7 separate regions of the Homo sapiens genome follow, and regions 2, 3, 4, 5, 6 and 7 are each linked to region 1. The links are contacts of gene promoters, found by promoter capture Hi-C in blood cells and fetal thymus (Javierre and others, 2016). All regions are on one chromosome and are shown on one strand. Each heading gives the region's core, a stretch centred on a gene start or on the middle of the fragment in contact. The rest is flanking DNA. Distances are from core to core; before and after follow the strand shown.

What was found. Contacts are between HindIII fragments. The CHiCAGO score rates a contact against its expected background, and 5 or more counts as called.
Region 2: a fragment that was not itself captured here is called in contact with the fragment with the promoter of PUM2 in region 1 in 2 of 17 cell types (non-activated CD4 T cells and total B cells); the score reaches 5.9 in non-activated CD4 T cells.
Region 3: a contact is called between a fragment that was not itself captured here and the fragment with the promoter of PUM2 in region 1, in 2 of 17 cell types (total CD4 T cells and activated CD4 T cells). The highest score is 5.8, in total CD4 T cells.
Region 4: a contact is called between a fragment that was not itself captured here and the fragment with the promoter of PUM2 in region 1, in 6 of 17 cell types (naive CD8 T cells, naive CD4 T cells, M0 macrophages and 3 more). The highest score is 7.2, in naive CD8 T cells.
Region 5: a contact is called between a fragment that was not itself captured here and the fragment with the promoter of PUM2 in region 1, in 1 of 17 cell types (total B cells). The highest score is 5.8, in total B cells.
Region 6: a contact is called between a fragment that was not itself captured here and the fragment with the promoter of PUM2 in region 1, in 7 of 17 cell types (activated CD4 T cells, erythroblasts, M1 macrophages and 4 more). The highest score is 7.1, in activated CD4 T cells.
Region 7: a fragment that was not itself captured here is called in contact with the fragment with the promoter of PUM2 in region 1 in 4 of 17 cell types (monocytes, total B cells, neutrophils and 1 more); the score reaches 6.0 in monocytes.

What each region holds. Positions count from the first base shown.
Region 1 is chr2:20,349,129-20,352,516 of GRCh38, forward strand. PUM2 (pumilio RNA binding family member 2) reads right to left here and starts at 1,716. Exons shown (of 21, transcript NM_015317.5): 1 at 1,469-1,716. RefSeq lists a silencer at 1,099-1,988 and enhancers at 1,184-1,813, 1,814-2,445, 2,149-2,238, 2,446-3,075. The HindIII fragment of the contact is 4,637 bases long and covers 999-3,388 here.
Region 2 is chr2:20,832,005-20,835,392 of GRCh38, forward strand. No RefSeq gene overlaps it. Among named protein-coding and RNA genes, the nearest start is that of LDAH, 11 kb to the left of the region's middle. The HindIII fragment of the contact is 942 bases long and covers 1,294-2,235 here.
Region 3 is chr2:20,809,975-20,813,362 of GRCh38, forward strand. The region is part of intron 1 of LDAH (lipid droplet associated hydrolase); the gene reads right to left. Among named protein-coding and RNA genes, the nearest start is that of LDAH, 11 kb to the right of the region's middle. The HindIII fragment of the contact is 1,980 bases long and covers 642-2,621 here.
Region 4 is chr2:19,891,879-19,895,266 of GRCh38, forward strand. No RefSeq gene overlaps it. Among named protein-coding and RNA genes, the nearest start is that of TTC32, 8.4 kb to the right of the region's middle. The HindIII fragment of the contact is 3,471 bases long and covers 14-3,388 here.
Region 5 is chr2:20,756,174-20,759,561 of GRCh38, forward strand. All of the region lies in intron 4 of LDAH (lipid droplet associated hydrolase), which reads right to left. Among named protein-coding and RNA genes, the nearest start is that of LDAH, 65 kb to the right of the region's middle. The HindIII fragment of the contact is 3,253 bases long and covers 219-3,388 here.
Region 6 is chr2:19,957,177-19,960,564 of GRCh38, forward strand. It overlaps WDR35 (WD repeat domain 35), which reads right to left. Exons shown (of 27, transcript NM_020779.4): 11 at 3,378-3,388. Among named protein-coding and RNA genes, the nearest start is that of WDR35, 31 kb to the right of the region's middle. The HindIII fragment of the contact is 2,030 bases long and covers 236-2,265 here.
Region 7 is chr2:20,691,584-20,694,971 of GRCh38, forward strand. All of the region lies in intron 6 of LDAH (lipid droplet associated hydrolase), which reads right to left. Among named protein-coding and RNA genes, the nearest start is that of GDF7, 26 kb to the left of the region's middle. RefSeq lists a silencer at 2,233-2,417. The HindIII fragment of the contact is 1,880 bases long and covers 736-2,615 here.

The DNA of each region.
Region 1 (3,388 bases), core at 466-2,965:
CTAAGAGAACTTTGGACTCAAATTAAGGAAAGCATGTGTTAAACACAGCTTAAATTGCTGGAAAATGCGTAAGTTACTGGCAATTATAACTCAAAATAGCTAGACCTGTAAACAAAATTTAAAAACTGGACTTAAATCCTCAAGAACCAGGTTTCTGAAATAAAATTTTATTTTTAAGATTATCGTAAACCTTTTCTGCATACAAAAACTGCCCTCATGCACACCAAGAAAATTCTACACAATGCAATTTCACCAAAAATCGGAATTTTAAAGAAATTCTTGCAGCACGGAAAATGCCATCATTTTTATTCATAATGATTGAGCAAATGAAGTAAATCATTGTTTAAAAGGAGGCTAGGAAGAGAAACAAGTTGAAAATACTCATTTTTGTTTTTTTTTTTTTATTTACAGGATTCCTTAAGTCATCTTCCAATACTCCAGGTCACATGGTGAAGAGTCACCTGTTAAACACGAAATCTAACCATTAAACAAGCTTTTAAAATCCTTCGGTAACTCCCTTTATTAAAATTGTTTTCTTGACATACAGTACCTTTACAGGTATTACATTTCTCTTCACCGTTTACAAGCATTTTTCTCATGTTTTCCTTCACCAAAACATCTGCCCCGTTTTCTCAACAAGTAAAAATCTCAAAGTACTAAGTCCTAACATGATGTCTTATTGCACCTAATATGCTGGCAATACATTCCTCTCTTCAAAAGTTTACGTATGTTAGAATAAAAAGCTAAGTTAAGTAGGTTTTCTCTGGCTGTGTTTTCAGAAACAACACTAACTTTTACACGTGTTTGGGCATGAAACTTTAAACATTTTCCCCAAAACCTGACCCAATTCAGATACAAAACTACTGCTCAAATAGTAGAAGCCGCTAATCTTGTCTTTGGTTTTAATTTACATATTTTTCTGAATATCGAAATCCGTTCCTATAACCTAAACAAGGCGAATCCAAGTCACTGCTTCATACCCACATCTGTCCACGGCAAGCTTTTCCCGGACACACTCGGGCCTTTGAAAATGCCCACACTTGTTTTCATAAACCCACTCCTTCCTCTTCACCCACTTGCAATCCGCATGCTTCTCTGGGGCCACCCGGCCTCTCCCCTCTTTCCGAACCCTAGGGCCGACAGCTCGGTCTCTAACCTCCAGCGCGCCGAATCGGAGGGAGAACCGGGTCGGCGCCCCACGCCCCCGAGGCGGCGGCCCCGCAGAGGGAAGGAAGCGGGAAAGCGGCCGGCGCGGCGCCCCCTCCCCCGCACGCGCACACCCCCTTCCGGCACCCCTCCCCCTGCATTGTGCGAGCGGGCCCCAGGCCGCACCGGCCCGGGCACTCAGCAGGCCCTATCCGCCCTCCCGCTGGCGATCGGCTCCCGCCGAGGCCGCCGCACAAAGCCTGGGGAGCCATCCTCGACGGCGCCAAAGGACCGGAGAAAGAGCGAACGCGGACTGACTTACAGGGCTGCTGCGGCCGCGCTGCCTCAGCCGGGGACACCGACCGTTGGGCACACGGCGGCGTCGCTCTTGGCGGTCCTCCCCCTCCTCCGCCTTCGGTGGCGGCAATGTCTTCTTTCTCCACCTACCACCCTCCCCCCCCACCCCACCTCCTCCTTCTCCTCCCCCTCCTCCTCCGAACCACCGAAGTACCGAGGGTGAGACACAGAGACTCACAACAACATGGCTGCCACCGCCGCCTGCCCTCCCCTCCCCCCCGCCCACCGGGCGCGCGCAGTGCACCCCGGGAGAAAGGGGAGGGGGAGCGCTCACCAAGGCGCGGCTCCTTTTAATGCCTTGCGTCCCTGCTCCCGCGCTGCCGCCGCGCGGGCCGGGGGCGCCCTGCGCGTGCGCACGTTCTCCGCGCTCTCACGTGTTTGGCCGCCTCTCCGGCGTGCCCTCCCCCGCCCTCACCTTGCGGGCTCGCGCTTCCCTCCTGGGCTCCGCCGCGGCGGGCTCGGAGAGCGCAGGCGTACTGTTGCCAAACGCTGTGTTCGACTGTCTTCCCGCGTGGGGCCTCGCCTTCTGAATCTTCTTACCCTCGGCTTCCTACCCGGTTGCTCACTGTTTTCCCCCAACTGGGTGTGCGGGTGTCTGCGCCCGCGCCGCCCACCGTGGGGTACTCCTGGCATTTCGCTTCCAGAGTGCTGGCGCCCACAAGAGCCGGACGTTAATTCAGGCCTTTAACTTTCACTCTGTACCTCCCCACAACCAGACGAGGGAGATGCATCTGGGGGTGGAAGATTGTACCCTGCGAGAGGGCTGTCACTCTTCTCGTGGTTGCACCCCAGGCAGGTGGAGCCAGCTCTCAGCAAATTGTCGGCCCCCAGTGCTTGGTCCCGGTGCACACAAAGGAAACTCAGGTCGTTCTCCAGCTGGGCCAGTGATTCTCACTCGTTGGCTGTTTCTTTTTCTCGCGTACTAAGCGCTCTCTCCTTCCCCGTTTACAGGCTAGTTGGAAACTCCAAATCTGCCTTGCTGTCCTGGACCCCCATGCAAAGCAGTGGTGATTCCAGGATTCTAACCTAACCGGCTCCAGGTCACACAGCTGTAACAGGCACCGTGTCCGATTTGTTCTTGATGGTTTGTTTGCACAGCTCCTGGCTCTCCTGACATGCTGCACTTCGTAAATATTCAGGGCCTCCCGTATAGTTTGCTTAATATATGTCTTCCCTAGGCGACTGTGAGCTCCACGAGGGCAAGGACCTTGTGTTTTGTTTCACACTGTGCCCGCAAGTGCCTGTTGAATACACATGGGCTCTTCGGTTTTTAACTATTACTGAAAAATGTCTGACATTGAAATCCATCCCAAGCCCCTACCTTAGGCTCATATTTCAGGCTTCTAGATATTTTCACTTGAATTTTCTTGTCACCAAGCATGTTAAAAACTGAAGTCACACCCATCCCCTACCCCCCACTCTTGTACTGTCTCTGTAATTGGCAGTGTCACCACCTATTCATTCCCCAAATTACACCTCTGAGAACCATCCTTGTCTCTTCCTCTTACCCCGACTCCAAATATAAATAACTTACCAAGCCTCGCAGATTTTTACTTCCCAAGTAATTCTGGAGACAGTCTTCCTCTGCCTCCTCACTAATGCTAGCCTTGCTTCCCAGGTCTGGATTTCTGTAGCTGGCTCTTAATCAGCTTTCCTGTCTCCAGTCTCACTCCCTCCAATCAGTTCTGCTCACTGCTATCTAAAATGCAAATCCAATTCCTGGCGCTCAGGCCTCTGCTTCAACCATCTCATTGCTCCCCATCACCCACGACAGCATTTCCCTAGTGTGCTGTGTTCAGTGTTAATAGATGTTCCTTTAAGAAATGTCTCACGATCAAGTAAGAATGGGAGATGCTGGGGTGTACACATTTTGCCTTCCTTCTCC
Region 2 (3,388 bases), core at 515-3,014, 480 kb after region 1:
GGACACTTCATAGCAAGGCTGTTGATGTCACAATGACAGCAAGCCAGAGAAATGGGTAATACTCAGATCTTCATGGTAGAAGAGAATAATCTGGTGGATATTAGAATGCTAGAAGGACCTGTGCTCATTAATCAAAAATGTTCCCCTCTACCTTATTATTCCATTCCACAAAAAGTGGAAACTCCTGGTTTAGACATCTGTTGAATTAATATGTGTGGTTGATGATTATATAAAAGGCAACAAGAGGAAGAAAAAGGAAAGAGAACAAAGGGATGAGAGAAAAAAAAGATATTTTTTCAAAGTTTAGAAGACAAAGATTTCTCTTCAATGTGTACTCTAGAGATCAGACCACGAGTCATAAATGTTAGTGAATTTTGAATTATGTTTTCCCACTGGCTCTAATACTGAATTTTCTTGTTTATATATTTATAAATAGGGATAATTATAAATGCTTTAAAACATATGATTATTTAATGCGGCCCTCCACAAAATGGCACTGGCATATCCTGAGATCCACATTAATTCTTTTTTCAAACACTTTGGGTCAGAAAAACAGATCACATAATGATTCATCTTAAGCATAAATTAAAAATCAAGATCCATTCTTTTTTAAATTTATAAATGTATTATTTTAGTCCTTAAAAATCTTCACAGAATAGAGATAATAGCTAAAAATTGACAAAGCCATATTTAACTCCCATATTATAGCTAAGCTGTTCCTCCTGGCATTTAATTATGCTAAGACTCAAAGAAATAGATGGTCTTGAAAGCCAGCACACTTGAGCTGTGAGACTTGGAGATTCTTGTTGGCAGACTATTCATTGATAGTACTGCCTTCATACATGCACTTGGCTTGTAAAATGAATAAAAAAACCTGGCAAACACCAACATTTAGATGCTTGTGCCATCAAAAATTATACAAAATATATGTATATACTCACATACATTTGTATATATATGTGTTTATGTATATTATAGAGAGAAACTAAAATCATATTTTGAAGACTTTCAAGGTAATTCACCGTTTAGTATAACTGCAATGCCAAATGTTTTGTATTAATCCATGATATGACCCATCAGCCCTCCTCAATGAAACCACATCATAAAGAACCTTTTAGTGGCAGGACAGGGTAGGGTGAGGATAAGAAAAATATGGGAGAAGTAGTTCAACTATCTCTATAAATTAAAAACAAAGTAGAGATTTGTAGGACTAGCTGCAGATGAATATCCCTTTAGAGTACAGTATGTTCCCATTTTATTGGATTCCTCAGAAACTTATTGTCCGTTCAACAAAGCTTTTGTGGGTTAATAATACTGTTACAGGACTTTTCACAAATCATTCCTTTTTATTTTTTAATGGAGACTTTATATTCCCCAGTAAAATAAGAATGGAATCTTTCATAGACAAAACTCCTTCCCATACCATCCACCTATCCAACTGTGGTAGACTGAGCAATGGCACCCCAAAGATGTCCATGTCCTAATCCCTGGAACCTGTGATGCTACCTTATGTGACAAAAAAGATTCTGCAGATGTGATTAAGAAGTGTTAAGGGTCTTGAAAAGGAGAGGTTATCGAAGATTTTCTAGGTGGGCCTAATATAACTACAAGGGTTTGTGTAAGACGGACACAGGAGGGTCAGAATCAGAGATGATACTGTGACTTTGGAAGCACGGGGAGAGAAGGAGATGTGATGGTGGAGGCAGCTGTCAGTCAAAGAGAGGGATTGGAAGATGCTACGCTGCTGGCTGGAAGGTGGAGGAAGGGGTCACAGACCAAGGAATGTAGGCAGCCAATTGCTGGAAAAAGCAAGGAAGTGAATGTTCCTCTAGAACTTCCAGAAGGAACACAGGCCCATCAACATCTTGATTTTAGCCCATTAAAACCGATTTGGAGGCGGCGGGCGCCTGTGGTCCCAGCCACTCCGGAGGCTGAGGCGGGGGAACGGCGTGAACCCGGGGGGCGGAGCTTGCAGTGAGCCGAGATTGCGCCACTGCACTCCAGCCTGGGAGACACAGCAAGACTCCGCCTCAAAAAACAAAAAACAAAAAAAAACCCCATTTTGAAGTTCTGACCTCCAGAGCTGTCTGTAAGATAATACATTAGTATTGTTTTAAGGGCCAAATTTGTGATAATTTGTTGCAGCAACCATAGGAAACTAATAAATCAACTAAATGAAGGCTCAGACCATTTCTGTTTTGAAAACAAATGAATGATATTAGCTAGAGAATCCCAAGCTTCAGAGCACTAGTTGTTGCCAAAGTACTATTATGGTTTCTGTTACACTTTTGCTTTCTTGAATTTAGATACCTTTAAAGCGGTCTCATGTTTGCCTGCCTTCTCACAGTCAGTTTGTGATCACCAAAATATAGGCACACTGTAGCACAGGGTTCAAATCCATTCTTAGATTCCGTTTTCATTTATGGTTTGCTTTAGAATTCTTAGCTGAAATTCACAGAGTTAAACTAAAATATTTTTAAAATGTGAATTTCTAATATTATTAAAATTTTGGAGTCATCTCTTTTGTGTAACATTTCACGGAAATGGGGGAACCACATTCATTCCCTTCCCTCCCTCTTCCCCTCCCCTCCCCTTCCCCCTTCCCTTCCCCCTCCCCTTCCCCCTCCCCTTCCCCCTCCCCTTCCCCCTCCCCTTCCCCCTCCCCCTCCCCTTCCCCCTCCCCCTCCCCCTCCCCTTTCCCTCCTTATCTCCCTCCCTCCCTCCCTCCTTCCTTCCCTCCCTCCCTCCTTCTTTCCTTCCTTCCTTCCTTCCTTTTGTTTCTTTCTTTTCCCAAGATGGTGAGGTTGATATATCAGCTCCAAAGAGTGCCCGTGGCGACTAAGTAGGTACTTTAACTTTTTGGCGGCCCATGTGAGGATGTGGCTCTCTTCCTGTTTGGAGAATGCCCCCATGTGATGAGTCCTATAACATCCTAAGCATTGTGCTAGCCTTGGTTTGAGAAACCTCCTTCTAGTCCAGAGGATATTAGCCCATGTAAAACTGTGCTCATTCTATCGACCAGCTCATCCTCAAGAACTATATTGAAGAGCACACTTGTAAGAGTCAGAAGAAGGGGAGTCCAGCGAACTATAAATGGGTAAGAAGGGCTTTTGACTGAAGAATATTCTTGAACTCTGCCTTGAAAGATAGTATTTGCGTAAAGGAGAGAAAATTGCATTCTAGATGAGGAGATTAATTTAACAAATACGTAAAATAGTCTGAAAAAGCATGATCAGTGAAGAAAATTGGACTTGTCTCAACTCTGTACAATCACAACTAATAACACTTTTACCTCAAATGTTTTTACTAGGGTTGCGCACAGTTTCTGCCACAGAATTGCCCTGAGCTCTGTTTTGTCTGTTTCAACATTCTTTTCCAAACCTCTGTA
Region 3 (3,388 bases), core at 382-2,881, 460 kb after region 1:
CTCAGGAAACATTGGGTGTTCCAGTTACTCTCGCTATCTAAAATATTACTTTAAAACTTAGTGGCTTAAGACAACCATTTACTATGCTTATGGATTCTGTGGGTCAGGAATTCAGAAAGGGCACAACAAAGATAGCCTATCTCTGATCCAAAGTCTGGGGCCTTAGCTGAGAAAACTCAAGAACTGGGTGTGATCTGATCACTGGAGGCAGGAGTCATCTGGAAGTATCTTTGTTCATATGCTTGGTGACTGATGCTGTTGTCACATAGGCTGTTGGCCTGGAACACCTGCATGTGCCTTCTCCATTTGGCCTGCCAATATGGGCTACTTAAGCTTCTTCAGAAAATGGTGGCTTGGTTCCAAGAGCAAATGTCTCAAGAGTACCAGATTAAAGTTGTATCACCTTTTATGACCTACCCTCAAAAGTCACATAGCATCACTTCCATGTTAGACAGAAGCCCATCAATATTCAAAGACAGCATGTTCTTTGTACAATATGACTGTGACATTTCTACTGAGAGGGGTCAGTAGAAGAAGTGTCAAAGTCATATTGTAAAAAGAACATGTGGTATGGGAGTTACTATTGTGGCCATCTTTGGAAAACACAATCTGCAAAGTTAAGTTAAACACAAAGGCACATAAGCTTTACTTCTGAGGAACTTTTTCAAAGCACACCGATAAGAACTGAGAATGCTTTAGAGGGGGACATAGTATACAACAGGGGTCCACAATCCCTGGGCCATGGTCTGGAACTGGTTAGGAACCAGGCCACATAGCAGGAGATAAGCGGCAAGCAAGCATTACTGCCTGAGCTCCGCCTCATGTTAGATCAGTGGAGGCATTAAATTCTCACAGGAACGCAAACCCTATTGTGAACTGTGCATGCGAAGGATCTAGGTTGTATGCTCCCTATGAGAAACTAACGCCCAGTGATCTGAGATGGAACAGTTTCATCCCAAAACCATCACTCCCCACTCCCCACCATTTGTGGAAAAATTGACTTCCACAAAATGGGTCCCTGGTGCCAAAAAGGTATTCGACCTTCTTTTTTTTTTTTTTTTGAGACGGAGTCCCGCTCTCTCGCCCAGGCTGGACTGCAGTGGCGCGATCTCGGCTCACTGCAAGCTCCACCTCCCGGGTTCACGCCATTCTCCTGCCTCAGCCTCCCGAGTAGCTGGGACTACAGGCGCCCGCCACCACGGCCGGCTAATTTTTTTGTATTTTTAGTAGAGACGGGGTTTCACCGTGTTAGCCAGGATGGTGTCGATCTCCTGACCTCGTGATCCGCCCATCTCGGCCTCCCAAAGTGCTGGGATTACAGGCGTGAGCGGCCGCGCCCGGACTCAACCTTCTAAAAACTGATTTGACTATATTTCATTAATGGTGATCCTACTAATCTCTCTCATTAATACCTCATCTCCTTCCTCAGAACAGTTTGGGAAGATGTTGGAGGAAAGATAATCTGGTGGATTTAAAAGGCAGAGGGACTGGATTAACTGGATTAAACTAGTTTTTTTTTTTTGTTTTTTGAGATGAGTCTTGCTCTGTCGCCCAGGCTGGAGTGCAGTGGCGCGATCTCGGCTCAAAGCAAGCTCTGCCCCCGGGGTTCACGCCATTCTCCTGCCTCAGCCTCCCGAGTAGCTGGGACGACAGGCGCCTGCCACCATGCCTGGCTAATTTTTTGTATTTTTAGTAGAGATGGGGTTTCACTGTGTTAGCCAGGACGGTCTCGATCTCCTGACCTCGTGATCCACCCCTCTCGGCCTCCCAAAGTGCTGGGATTACAGGTATGAGCCACCTCACCTGGCCTAAACTAGTTCTTTTAAGAGGACTATGAAAGACAGAAAAAACACAAGATTACACTAGAGTTTGGCAGCTATCAAAATAATCTTGTTTAGATTATTTCAAAATATCCTGTTTAGATTATTTTGATAATAATCAATCAAATGTAGGCAAGAGTGGGAATGAAAAAGGAGTGAATGAGAGTCTTGGTAATGATATGGAGAACCAGGGAAGGGAAAGGGGCAGAGATGACAGATTTTGATGCCAAAGATGAGGGGAATGAAAGCACTCCTCACATACATATAGGGGGAAATGTAAAAGAAGGGAATTTAGTGGGAGGAAAGGAAGCTGGGATTAGTTACAAATGTAGTTTAAGTTTCAAGAAAATAAGGAACAAGGCCAGAAGACAATGTGAGCCACAGAACTAAAGCTCAAGAGAGAACAAAGTAGACATACAGTTTCTCCAGCAGCTTCTTAAAGAAATTCTCTATTTTGGCTTCTATGCCACCTCCCAGTCCTCAATGGGAACCTTTTCCTCTCCTATTCCCTGTCCCCAAAGTTTCTGCCCTGGATTCCCTTCTCTATATGCTCTCCCCTGGAGATTACATCCACTTCGAGAATTAGCCAAGTGAGAGAATCCTTTATATCTACTTCTCAAGTTCCTGTCAAGTTTTTCCAGCTATTGAGCATTTTCATCTGGGTGCCTCATTGATGCATAAAACTTCTGCAGAGCAAGTATCAAAATCATCTTGTTTTAAAAATCAACCCTATAAACCCTACATCATGACTTCTCTGCTGCCATATATGGACTAATATTCTCCCAGTCACCCTAATTCAAAAGCTTCTTTGGCAACCCCTGCTATATTTTGGGAGCAATATCCATAGGTAAGGAAAAAAGATATCAGCAAAATAAAAAGGAACAATTAGAAACAGGCATTAACTAAGACATGTAAAGTAATGTAAGCCAGTGAGGAGTGTTTCAAGAAAGTGGCAGGATGGTGATAAAGTTTTAAAAATAGATATTAACAAATGTCCAAGAGCGTAAGAACCAAGGCAACAGTAAGAACTAATAACTGAGAGTGCTTTCTGTAAGCCAGGTACTGTGCTAAGCACTTAACAGATGCTATCTAAATTTAATCCTGATGACAACCCTATAGATGGGTACTATTATTTCATCCTCCCACCCCAAGAAAATATGTGAGAAAATTGATTCAAAGACATTACGCAATTTGCCTAAGTCACACAGCTAGTAAGTTGTAAAGTGGCAGAGTCAGAATTTGAATCCAGAAATGTCTGAAAGATTCCAGAGCTCATGTTCTTTATTTTTAAAATTCTACTTATATGCATATATATAATTTCACTTATATGGATAAATGAGATATAATGCATGCTGTGATTTTTCTAAACAATTTTTTAACCTTTTGCATCATGCCTCCACTCTACCTCTCCTCCTTACCATCCATATCTCTCCCAAACCCATGTTATTAACTTAGTATAGTCTTCCATATTCTTCTATAATTATACACAAATATATGTTAAGCATTTATGTATTTTTTCATGAATGAGTTGCCAGTGTTTGACAAATAGTAGCATATTATATATACTT
Region 4 (3,388 bases), core at 499-2,998, 460 kb before region 1:
AAAAAAAAACTGAAGCTTTTCAGTCCCCCTTGGCTCTTATTCCTGCTAGAAATAATGTGACTATGTAATAATAAATTCTACTTAAGGGTTGTATCAGTCTGTTTTCACACTGCTATAAGGAACTGCCCCAGTCTGGGTAATTTATAAAGGAAACAGGTTTAATTGACTCACAGTTCAGCATGGGTGGGAAGGCCACAGGAAACTTGCAATCACGGCAAAAGGGGAAGCAAGGCACCTTCCTCACAAGGCAGTAGGAAGAATGACAGAAGGAGGAACTTGCCAAACCCTTAAAAACCATCAGATCTCGTGAGAATTCACTCACTATCACGAGAACAGCATCGGGGAAACAGCTCCATGATTCAATTACCTCCACCTGGTCTCTCCCTTGACATGTGGGGATTATGGGGATTACAATTCAAGATGAGATTTTGGGTGGGGACACAGCCAAACCATACCAAGGGTTTTTTGTTGTTTCTTCAGTAGTAGGGCCAAAATGTTTTTTGAAGTTAAGCACGATTCTTATAAGAATATAGAATGAAAATGTGAAAAATGTTTAACTCATTAATAGAGAACCGCCAGAGTGGTAAAAGAGCATTAGAATAACTGAGTACTTATGGTCCATGAAGAAAGAATTTGGGAATAAAGTTGCTAGGTTAAATACAAAACTGGTTAACGTTCTTCAGGGCAATACAGCCAAAACTTTTGGGGTTATCTTTTCTACCAGAGTTCATTTGCATCTCCTCTGGACAAAAATCTGCAAGTTACATGCAACCTCCCAGAGTCTGGGCCCTAATCAAGAGTAAATAGAAAATCAAAGAAAGGCACACACATGGCTCCCCAAAAGAATTAAACAGTCGTTGAGTGGGTCTGCTGGTATGATATTGAAATGCCATGCAAATCCTTTTGCCTTATTTCTACGTATTGGATGCTTTTTTTGACATAAGATAAAAATTTACATATTGGCAGCTGTAGCTATCTAGTTTCCAAATGGAGTTTGCTCTTAAAATTAATCTGCTTTTCACCATCTTTTGTGTCTGTTTTTAATAAGAAAAATGACCACCAAGCAATGTGGGCATTGCAATAACATTCCATTATTTAAAAACATACTTTAATATTATTCTGATACTCACTTTGCTGGGTACTAAAACATTTTATGAGCAATTTAAATTTTTTATCAGGACCAAAAAAAAAAAAAAAAGTCCACATATCTGCTGTGAGTTGATGCCAACAGCAAAAACATTGATACTCATTGCAGTTTCAAATATTTATATGGATTTTGGACACAACCTTGCACAAGTTACTCAATTTCTTAGCTTCATCCTCTATGCAGAATAAGACCTTCACTAAACTGCTATATTTATGATTTTGTGATGACACATATAAACCTGGGATTACACTGTTGTGTTCCTATTTTACTTTTATATCCACATTCATAATTTCAGTTTCGGGGCTTCCTTACAGGTTGCTTGTTTTATAATTTGTCTTGCTACATGACGTGTTCTTTTACCTTCTTGTGATTTTAAAAAGGATAAACTATGTGTTTTAATTGTATCAATTGCTTTGTTTTTTCAAAAACAGAAATTAGACTATACTCATCCTTCTTTCCTTTCTGTAGAGTGAAATGGTGTCATTTGAAGTCCCTTAACATTAGATTTGAAATTTAACAAATCTCACTCTCCCTCTTTTACCAACTGCCATTTTAAATTATGGGCATTCTGTTCTCACAATTTACTGTCACATTTTTTAGAAACACAGAAAACACCAAAATGTGAATTTATATAGAAATTGTTAAAATTACACACCTAGCGTAAATAGCAAATATTCAGTCAACTTTTCACTATGCTCTTGAAAAGCTATTACACATTTGTCAACAATTTGTTTAGCGTAGCAATATGTTAACCTAAACACACTAAATTCAGCATCCATTTCAGGCAGAGATGAGCCGTCTGATTTACTCAACACATTTCTAGTTAGAGAGCATCACATGAGACAAAGTGGAATCGTGCCACATATTTGAATGAAGCCAGAAGCAGCACTTTTTAGGACTCTTAGATCTGTTTTGTGCATGAGCTGTTGTTTTTGAAACACTCTCATGTTTAGTCATTAATTTGCATAAAATTTTTTCTGTGTTGTAACTTTAAGTGCAGTTTGCATGCAAGACCAGTATACCCAAAAACCTTGAAAAAATGGTGCAGCAACTCTGAATATACCTTCAAACCATTGAACTGTACACTTTAAATGGGTAAACTATATGATATATGAATTATTCTCAATAAAACAAAAAACTAGCACAGTAAACATTCATGCTCAGCCTAGACAATGTGGTGAAACCCTATCTCTACAAAATATACAAAAATTAGCTGGGCATGATGGCGCATGCCTATAGTCCAAGCTACTTAGGAGGCTGAGGTGGGAGGATCACCTGAGCCCAGGGAGGTCAAGGCTGCAGTGAGCTGTCATCAAGCTACTGCAATCCAGCCTGGGCAACAGAGTGAGACCCTGTCTCAAAAAAGAAAAAAAAAAAACATGCTATTACGGTTTATATACAAACTGTTTACTTCTGAGTTAAATTTTTAAGGGGGCTAGACTTAGCAGAAAGGGAGACATTGAGACAAGAATCAGTGTAAACGCTGAGTGGTAGGTGGGGTTGAAATATATCATGCCCACGGAGAAAGATTTAAGACCTACAAAATGACAGGGAGCCAAGGCTACATTTAGGATTCAGAGGGTAGAGAAGCCAGTGAAAAACAGAAAACCAAAAAAGACAGAGCAAAAGAGCAAATGACAGAGCAAAAGAGCAAATAGATAATGACTAAAGACTAACTTGGATATTTGCTTTGCTATCATAAAGTAAAGGGTTTTATTCAGTTCCAAATTTCAGAAAAAAACAAATAGCTCCACACTTTTCAACTACTGTTAGGAGTAATATTCTAAACTCAAAAGTAACTTAAATCCATTTTATCCTATCTTACCTCACTTTGTGAAAGAGAAACCTTATAACAAACCACAATTCTTTTGTTTTTACAAAGGAAAAAATTAGAAAACATAAGTTACTTTTCTAGTAGAAAAAGGAAATAACGAATACTGAAATGTGGGAAATATGAACGGTAATGAATATATTTTAAGGTAAATATCCAAGGTATTATTTGGTCAATCAGAAACTTAGAATCTGAATAATGCCTAAAGTTTCAACGCTAAACAAGGTAAATGAATTATTCTTTATTTCCAGTAACAAGACAAGAGAAAATGAGTGCCTGGGTCTACAATCAGCAACTGCTGATTCTGAACTTAAGTGACTTTTTTTTTTTTTTTTCTGATAAAGGATGAAGAAATTTTGAATATAATCTAACAAACCACATGAAAATGTTAAACAATTTTTCCTTTTCAT
Region 5 (3,388 bases), core at 595-3,094, 410 kb after region 1:
ACAAGTGTGCGCCACCATGCCCAGCTAATTTTTGTATTTTTAGTAGAGACGGGGTTTCACCATATTGGTCAGGCTGGTCTCGAACTCCTGACCTCAGGTGATCCACCCACCTCGGCCTTCCAAAGTGCTGGGATTACAGGTGAGAGCCACCGTGCCCAGCCTGGTGCCTCATTCTTAAATATGAGTGGATAATGAATAAGCACTAGACATTTGAGGAAAGCTTCACTTACAAGAGACAGATCAGTACTTTTTTTAAAAGCATGAAGAAAGGAATTCAGAATGAATACAGACAATGCAGGAGCCCAAAAACTCTAAAAAATGTTTTCCTGAGAGAGAGAGAAAGAGAGACCCATGAAGTAAAAATAAAAAGGATATTACAAAAAGGAAGAAAAGAACAAGAAATTCCTTAGAAACTATTTGCATAGATGCCAAAATCAAAAGTTTAATTAGATGAATTGGAAGATAAAGTAGGGAAAATATCCCCTATTTCTCATTGCAAAAAACTAAAAATTGAAAGAAATGGATAATGGAAAAGAAAATAAATCAAGAAAATCTTTTCTGAAAGTATAACACACAAATAATGAGAAAACAAGTAGAGAAAAAAATACAAGAGTTTTCAGTGTGTAAGTATGCCAGTTTCTGGATTAAAAAGGATAAATAGTCCAAGGAATATCATCAGAAAATATAATACTGACAATAAAGTGAATATTCTAAAACTTTCCAGAGGAAGAAAACAGTTCACAAAAATAATTAAAAACTTGAAATGACATACTTCTCAATAGCAGAGCTGGAAGAACTTAAAGCTCAGCACCAGCTGCTAATGGTGTTGATAGGAGGTGAAGATGGCAGGCTATCTTGTTGGAGAGCAATCTCCTTGCCAAGAACAATTAGAAAAGTTGGGAAAGTTTTTTAAAGTCCCCTTGAAGGCATCAGAGGCAGAGGAGATTTGAAGGCTAAAATGCTAGGGAAAAAGGAACTTCAGAGAGGAGTGCTGAAGTAGCTTTTCTTTGTTATTTGCTGATTTGCAAGCAGTAGCTAAGAAGCCAAGAAGCTGAAGAGAGTTTCTGAAAAATCTTGTGAGCTTGAAGGAAAAACCTGGGAATTGTGTGCCCATAAAAGAGAAGGCACTCTAGGCTTTCAGTGGAAACTATTAAAGGACTATACCCTAGAAGTAACGATGAACTGGAAATAGGCCAGCCCCTCCAAAGATAGCTTTGATTCAACCCAATTCCCAATGGCATCAAAGTGACCTACCCTAAGAATAATTGCAAAAACAAAGGTAAATCCTCCCTGGAGGAAGATAAGATTCTAATATTGTTTTACTAATTTTTCACATATAATGTCAGGTATTCAGTTAAAAAAAATACTTGCCAAGCTGTGATGGTCAATTTTACATGTCAGCTTGACTGGGCCACAGGGTGCCCAGATATTTGGTCAAACAATTTGGATGTGTGAGGGTGTTTCTGGCTGAGATTAACATTTGAATGGTACACTGAGTAAAGCATATTGCCCTCCCTAATGTGAGTGAGCCTCATCCAATCAGTTGAAGGTCTGACTAGAACCAAAAGGTTTAATAAAAGAGAATTCCTTCTGCCTGACCACCTTCAAGCTAGGACTTTTTTTTTTTTCTGTCTTCAGACTCAAAATGAAACATCAGCTCTTCCTGGGTCCTGAGGCTGCCAGCCTTTGGACTGGAATTAAACCATCAGAAATTCTGGCTCTCAGACCTTTGGACTGAAACTACAATTACATCATTGGCTTTCCTAGGTCTGCAGTTTGCTGACTACAGATCTTGGGATTTGTCAACCCCCATAAACATGTGAGCCAATTCCTTATAATAAACCTCTTTCCATGTGCATACATCCCATTGGTTGTTTCTCTGGCAAACCTGGACTAATACACAAGCATACGGATAGACAAGATAATATAACCAAAGCAAAGGAAAAAGCTGAAGTAGGAATGCAACCACATGAGACTTAGATGTTGGAATTATCAGACACAATCTTTATTTATTTTCATGTCAAATATATGATCTCTGAACTTTTATAAAAGTAATGATAATTTTAAAAATTGTTGATGGTACAAAGGAGAATAAAGTCAGATAGGGAGTTTAAAATAACTATAATATGATCAAGATATTAAATGACAAGATGGAGATTTGCAGGAATTAGTAATTATAACAATAAAATGGAAATTTTATAGGCAAAAAATAGAATAACTAAAATTGAGGATGTAACAGATGAGTTTAAAGGTGTTTATACATAGCTCAAGTGAGGATTAGTGAAGTAGAATGTTAAGTCAGAAGAAATATCTAGAACGAGGCAGGGAGACAAACAAAAGAGTTACTGTATGCAGATTATGCTCTAGTTAAAAGGAAAGCTGAAACATCTAACAGGAAAAATCAAAGAAATATGCAATGCCTATAATATAGGGTAGAATATAGAAGAATTATGAGAAAAAGTGTTACCAAAGGAAGGACAGAGTAAAAATGACTGGGAAGAATCAGGAAAGAGTTCACACAGGAGCTCATGTTTGAGATGATTTTCCAGAAGAACAGGAGGCATCAGTTAGATGGTGTGGGACAAAGCAGAAAGGAAGTAGCTCAACAAAGGCACATAGATAGGAAAATATATATCTAGACAATGAGAAATTATAAAGTCAGGATGGAGCCCTAAGTGCAGGGACTGTAAGGCAAACACAGCAACTATGAACGGAAGGAAACAAGGGCCTTAAGGAGAACCCTCCTGGTACCCAGATAACCAGAATATGTCCTTAAGTTTTTATGAAATCTCTTCTGAAAAAATGTCTATTGACATTAATATAATATTACTGAAGCTCTCAGAGACTTTCTCCTTTGTAAGAGGTTATAAGAAGCTCCTCAGCATCTTCCTAAGGGTAGTAGATTATGAAAGGGGAAAAGGCTGAATCTCTAACACTCAATTTGGCTTTTTGCAGAAGCTCCCATAACAGTACTGGTGAGGGGAGAAACTATTTGTTGAAATGGAGTTTCTAGACTGTGTCTTCATTCATGCATGCTCCCTCTGGTCTCTATATGACTGACCCTGGAAAATGATTTACTGTCTGGCTTCCTAGGGAGAGGTTTGCAGTATGACGCTGGCTTCCATCTTTTATGTATCAATACACCTTCCTGATACCTGACAATCTTGCTTCTTCCCAAACAAATACAATTAGTCTGAAATGGCCTGGAATGTGAGATCTCAAAGCAACCACATTTTATTCTTGTGAAGCATCTTTCATTTAGTGCCTAGCTTTCATTTAGTGCCTGCTAGGCTTTTTCCATTTCAGGAAATTTTTTGTGGCCTACATTGCATATTGTTCACAGATTTTCCATACAAGCTGGAAGTGAGCGTAAAACAACCTCATACAT
Region 6 (3,388 bases), core at 1-2,500, 390 kb before region 1:
TAAGAAGTATTAGTTAGACATGGTTGCTATTGTTCTTTTCACTTTTATCACCTACATAGGATTTTATAATAAAACCATATATAAATTCTCAGTTACTACAAAAAATAGAAATATATCTGAAAAATATGTTCTTTTGAATCAGTAAGGTGGTAATTTCAGCAAATTCATATGGGTAGATAATCCTATCTATACATATTTTGCTAGATCTTTATTAAGATTCATCCCATCTAGACTAAGCTTCTAGGAAAAGCAAAACAAAATCTTAACAGATACAATGTTTTAGGACAAGAACACAGCCAAGATGAAGGCCCTCCATGCCCTTTTTGACTGTTCAATATCTGAAAAGAAAAAAATTTGAAATATCTAGAAAGGTTATTGGATTTTTTTTTTTTTTGAGACGGTGTCTTGCTGTGTCACCCAGGCTGGAGAGCTGTGGCACGATCTTTGCTCAGTGCAACCTCTGCCTCCTGGGTTCAAGCGATTCTCCTGCCACAGCCTCCCAAGTAGCTGGGATTACAGGTGCATGCCACCATGTCTGGCTAATTTTCGTATTTTTAGTAGAGATGGGGTTTTGCCATTTTGGCCAGGCTGGTCTTGAACTCCTGACCTCAGGTGATCTACCCACCTCAGCCTCCCAAAGTGCTGGGATTACAGGAGTGAGCCACCATGCCCAGCTTGGAAAAAAAGTTTTTAAGAAAATAATTATGCTTTCATTAACTGAACTTTGTAATGCTAATAGGCAGTCATTACTAGCCAAGCAAGGATGTAAAATAATTTAAAACAATCTTGGAATTCACATATAAATAAAACCTGCTTGTAATATTTTAATGCTAAGGCATGAAATAAATGCCTACATCTGTAATGTTCACCCACTTTCCCATTTATTCATTTCTCAGCCCTTTCAAGTGCTGGTAAATTGAAATTTCACTGAAATGTTTTCATCAAATTAACTTTCTCTAAAATATATGGAAAACCTAGTGCACGTGTTAGATACCATCATTAGAAAGCTGCCCATGTGCTCCCACTAAAATGGCTGCAGCATAGGCAAACTGGTACTTGATGGCCACTTTCCATGCCTTCATTCCTCTGCAAATGCCGTTTTCTTTCCTTGAAATATCACCTAAAGAAATACTTACTTTTCAAAACTCAGCTCAAATGAAACCTTCTCTAAGTAGAAAGATGTCTCTGATGTCCTTATGCACCAATAACCATTTACCTGGCACCTAGAGCAATACCTAGCACGCAGTAGGGAAGCAATAAATCACTGTTCAATGAATTAACTAGGTTTTAATTATTTGTTCAGAAATCCCACAGGAAATGTCATAATTAATTTCTTATTATTCCCAGTGACCAGTACAGTACCTGAAACAGTATATACTCATTGATAGTTTGCTAAATAAATGAATCATCATTTTTTATTTACATGATAGAAAATAAATAATTTCCATGCATTCAATAAACATTTATTATGGGCCAAGGCAGTGTTAGGTCATGGGGATACAGAAGTTAATTAGACGTAGATCTTTAAGAAGTTCAAAGTCTAGTGGGGAAGATAGACAAGAAAATTAGTAACCACAGTGCAGGTTAAGAGGTATTTTGGATGGAAGCACACCAAAGGTATTATGAGTGCTCAAGAAAAGAACACCAAAAAAGGATACCTAACTCTCATGTGTAGAGTATAACAGAGTCCCACAAACTACACTTCTATAATAATCTATAAAGTTCATTTTAAAGTTTCTACAAAAATTATAAAGAGGAAGAGTAGGTGGCAAAACAAAAATAATAAATTCTAGAAGAGTATCACTCACAGACTTTTTTTATTTTAGCCTCTAGTCCTCATAAACATTTGGCATAGAAACTTTAAAAAAGAAATTTTACAGGATATGTATGAAACAAAAATGTTGAGTCTTTGGCTGTGTTCACTGCAGGCCAATGAAAGAACTGTTTGTTAAAATCTCAGTCAGCAAGACTACAAAAAAAAAAAGTTTTGAGACTCAAAAATACAAATAGTCATGCTCTCAAGTATTTGCCATTTTATGAAGAAGGATTTACATTTAGCTTTATTTTAAAAAAACAGTCTACTTGTGATAAAAATTACTTTGACATTAACCCTATCACCATTATGATTCTATGTTAAAACTTTGGATATTAAAAGAAAAAGCATATAATCTGAAGACTGACAAAATTTACCTCTTAAAGACTGTTAATGCTTCTAATAAACAAGAGATATTTATGTGATGAGAGTCTGTTAATAATTTTAAGCTAAGCTTTTTAACAAGGAACACTAATGTGTATATATATGTGTATATAAATATATACACATATAAAACATATAAACATGCCTATGTAGCAATGAATGTAAGACATGAAGTTGAAATGTGTCAATATATCTAAGTGAGTAGGTTATCAAGACCCTAAGCCATAGAGTATAAAGTCTTTGAGGTCATTATTTCTCATATTTGCTATTATCACCCAAACACTTAGCAATTTTTTCAACAAACACTTAGCAAAATGCAAACACTCAAAAGGCAACAGGCATTAATACTTAATTGCTTAGGCTAAATGTCCAATATGAAAAAAAAATGACTAGTTCTCAGGTTCTCAGGAATAATGCAATGGGTTTTTAATTTCTTAGATTTAATAATTTTTACAATACTGTATCCAATATACTACCATACACATTAAAAGAAAATCATTACTTTTGGAAGTTACAGTGAAATGGCAACAAAATACTTGTTAATGATTTTTAATAATCTACTTAGAATAAGATTTGGAATTTTTAATGGGTTACTTTCATAGTTATTGGGTAGAGGGAATAGTAAATCTAAAGTAACAAAAGTCCTTTGAAAACAAAAAGTCAGGAATTTTTAAAACTGTCCCTATTAATAGACTCATTTCATTAGAAAAATCTGGAAAGGGCAAACTCACTTTTACAAGCAGCCAAAGTGTTTTTATGGAAGAGAGGTATTTACAAGCAGTTTATTAATAATGAAAGTGGTTTAATAGCAAAATTCTTTCTATAATCCTCAGTTTATTACATACTAATCATTACGCTGCATACCAATTCCTACACAATTATATTTCCCATTTAAAGCGAATGATGGTACTATAGCAGTTGTGAAATTATAATGGATTTTAGATAGACTAACCTTATAATTTACTGTCTTAACCAGGATACTTTTGAGAGTAAAATGGGATATTAAGAATTCTACCATGGTAACAGATATAAACTGGTACTGGATCTGACAAAGTAGGAAGTATGGTCATCCTCGTTTTAGAAAACACCATTCTAATTAATAATACCAGTGTTAGGTTTTTAAATTAGTGTTACAAATAAAACCTGATTGGAAAAGAAATAAATATCAACATTTCCTTACCAATATCAATG
Region 7 (3,388 bases), core at 426-2,925, 340 kb after region 1:
AAGAATCGCAGGCAATCAGCAGGATGTTTACATTCAAAGGTTTAGAAGAAAATAAATTATTTCCTGTAGTTTATTTATCCTTAGCACTTGTTTTGGAACTCATGAGAGTTGATAAAAAGTATACATTATTGAGATAGAAATTTTTCTGTTTCCAAATTGTCATGTTAAGTAACCCATTGTTTTCTATTAAGCACAAAATTTAACTTTTTTTCAGTCTAGATTTTGATTCTCCAGAACCATGCTTTGGCTTTTCCTCCTGTGTTTTCTGCAGGAAAGTGGATTTATGGTTACTATGGTCTCTGGGCTTATAGATGAACTTCCCTTTAACTGTTTAATGTGCACCTAAGGGGACAGGGCCCTCCTAAAATATCCCTGCAGGTTGCTGCAGCTTGTCCCCACATCTGTCTTTTCTTCTGTGTGTTTTTTTTTCCCCACTTTTTGGGGGGTCTACAAACAGCACTGTTGGACAGTGAATTGCTGAAGCTGATAGATTAAAATGAGTTCCACCAAAAATGACTCTGATTCCATCCCATATCTGGTACTAGGCTAAGTGGCTGACATTCAGAAGTGTGTAAGATGGTCTCTGCCCTGGAACAGCTCACAGACTAGGCGAGAGAACAGACCTATATAAACTGGCTCTTAAATACAACAGGCAGACAGAGGTATGGACAAAGCCCTACGGGACCCCAAAGCAGGAAAACCCAAATTCTGCCCTGAGGGAGTGAACATGAACAAAGCTTTGTTTTAGTATACATTTGGAGTTGCATGCTTTTATGCATTACTAATAGAGGATTTATAGTAAGAACAAAGAAATATTAGAAGCATCTTATGATTTAGCTAATAACAAAACTCACTTTCAATGACATAGCAACATCTTAAAATAATAACAATTTTAAAAGCCACACATAAAAATCTCTATCTGAATTATCTGTCTATTCAATAGGACAGTAGGACTACAGGCATTACAGGAATAAAAGGGCTAATAAAATGAAAGTTTTGCATCTCTATATATTTTTGCATATATATATTTGTTGTTGGTGTTAACCTTATGGATAAACTGAATTTTAGAAGCTCTTTAAATCATAATTCACCACGAAGTCAAGTTTGGTACAAACGATATCTCATCAATACAACTTGAAATGTTTCCAACGAGAAATCCAGCTTGATGAGCCTTTGGCACAGACTACTTTGGGTAGTCAATTTGTGGGGTGCCTGTTTTGTGATATAGTGCAGGCCTGAGCAGGGTGGTAAACGGCATTTCTGGGGGTGTCATGCTGAGAGTGAAAGGGCTTCTCATAATGTCTTTATATCACAGTGTGGTAAAATAATTGTATTTATATTATTCTAAAGTAATTTGTGAAACTACTCAAGCTCCTTATGCAGCCAAGAAGAGCGTAGTGCAGTGAGTACAGTGTTAAGACTGTACAGGTCCCTGAGCCATATCCACCTGGACTGGAATCTTGGTTCTGCCATTTATTGGTGCTGTGAGCCTGGACCAGTTACTTAGCTTCCCTGTGCCTGTTTACTCATCTGTAAAGTAAGACAGAACTAGTTACCTGTGGGCTAGTGCTGAGGACTGGAAAACAAAGTGTATCAAGTGCTTTCCACATGGTGGGCACTCTTAAAGGCTGCTGCTTTACAGGTGAGGACAAAGGGAGCTCCTCGACACAGACTGGGCAATGGTGGGCTGGGTGGGTGGGAGCTGTGCCCTGCTCAAGGAAAAAGAATCCACATGACCTTACATTAGCCTTTGAGAAAATATATTCTATTCTGATAAGTTGTTTTTGACATAGGCTCAGAAAATGTATAAGTATTAAACATTTTTTAAAATATAAAACAAAGTTGTTTTACCATATACTTACTCATTATCTAAAAAATGTACATGTCATATTCCCCAGACATGACTGTAGAGAAAGACAGGTGGGGTAGAAGATAAGTCGCCAACCAAATAAACAGTGAAGCACATCCCTATCCTCAAGCCGCCACTAACAGTCAGCTCTTGGTGTGGATTCTATACTTCCACTTTTATAATAAAACCTACTTTTCCTCATAAAGGAGACCTGGAGCCTAAGCTATAGTGCCCTTTGGCTATCCTTGGTTGAGCATCTTCCAAATGAAGAAAGGCACCGACATTCTGGGAGTTACTTTTCTTCCTGGTGAGCTCACAGGGTGAGCCTGTGGGTTCTTGCAGCAGTGAAGGTAATGCCCACCGCTTTTCTGAGCAATGCAAGGCTTTCTGTTAGCACTTCATCAACAGCTGTAGCTCCCTGGCAGCTTACGCTGCATGGCAGGGCAACCAGGAAGCCAGCACTAGAGACAGTGACCAAAGAGGAGTGACACAGATTCTGAGAGAGATCTATCTTCTTGGCCTTTCTTCCAGAGGTCTAAGAAAAATATGTCATTCCTGCTTTCTCCAGGTTTTCTTTCCTTCTTTGAAATAATTTGCACTAGAGCAGGTTTTTTGCTTGTTTCATTGTTTGTGAAAAAAGCAAAAGGTCAGATATAAAGCAGTCGGTTGAATACCAAGGGATCAAATTAGTACCTACACATACAGGCCCCCTACTTCCCAGCTAGGGCCCCTACCCTGCCTTTATCTCCTGTTTTCATCCCCTTGAAGCTTTCCCGGGCTCGGGATATAAACTGTTAGGTCCTCCAATGCATGCCCATTTCTGGGGAGAGTCCAGACAGTCTGGATGACAGCAGCAGGCTTCCACTTCTCCCCTCCCCTCAGAGTCAAAGACATGTAAGCCCCAATCTTGCAATGTTAAAGGAAACCGATTCTGTGATATAAGCATCTCCTTTCAGTTACTTAAAAAATCTTATCCCTGTTGGGGACACAGGCAGCTGCAAAGTGTCAACATTTCACTGCAGTCTTTCTGAGCCTCTGTTTTTAGGGACTTGCAGAATTGCTAAAGAAAGGGAGATGGTTTAGGGACTTCAGTTTTTCCAGTTACCTTGTTTCCTCTCTTCCGTTTATTCCTAACTGGCTCAATTACCATTCTTGAGAAAATGAGAACTGAAATCTCCAAAGATTTTTAAAAAGTGGCTGAGGATGGAGGTGAAAACACAAATGCTTCCCGCCCGTGAACCCTGCTTCTCTCTGCAGGCACAGAGGGGAGCGGTGGGAATGGGAGCGCCAAAGGAGGAGTAGGTCCTATGGGGCACTGTGTGGCTCACTCTCCAGTAGCTGGAACAACCATCTGTGTATACAGCGGTGTGCAGAGCAGCACTCTCCTTTCCGTGTGGCTAACATGTAAAGGGCCAGGATCCTCTCCCTCCCACATACAAGCCACGAGGCCATCAAGTGACTGGCTTGTCTCTTTCTCACGTGAGACTGCACTGAGATGCTAACCCAGGGCCTCTGCTTTCCTCTGGCGAGGCCCTCTGG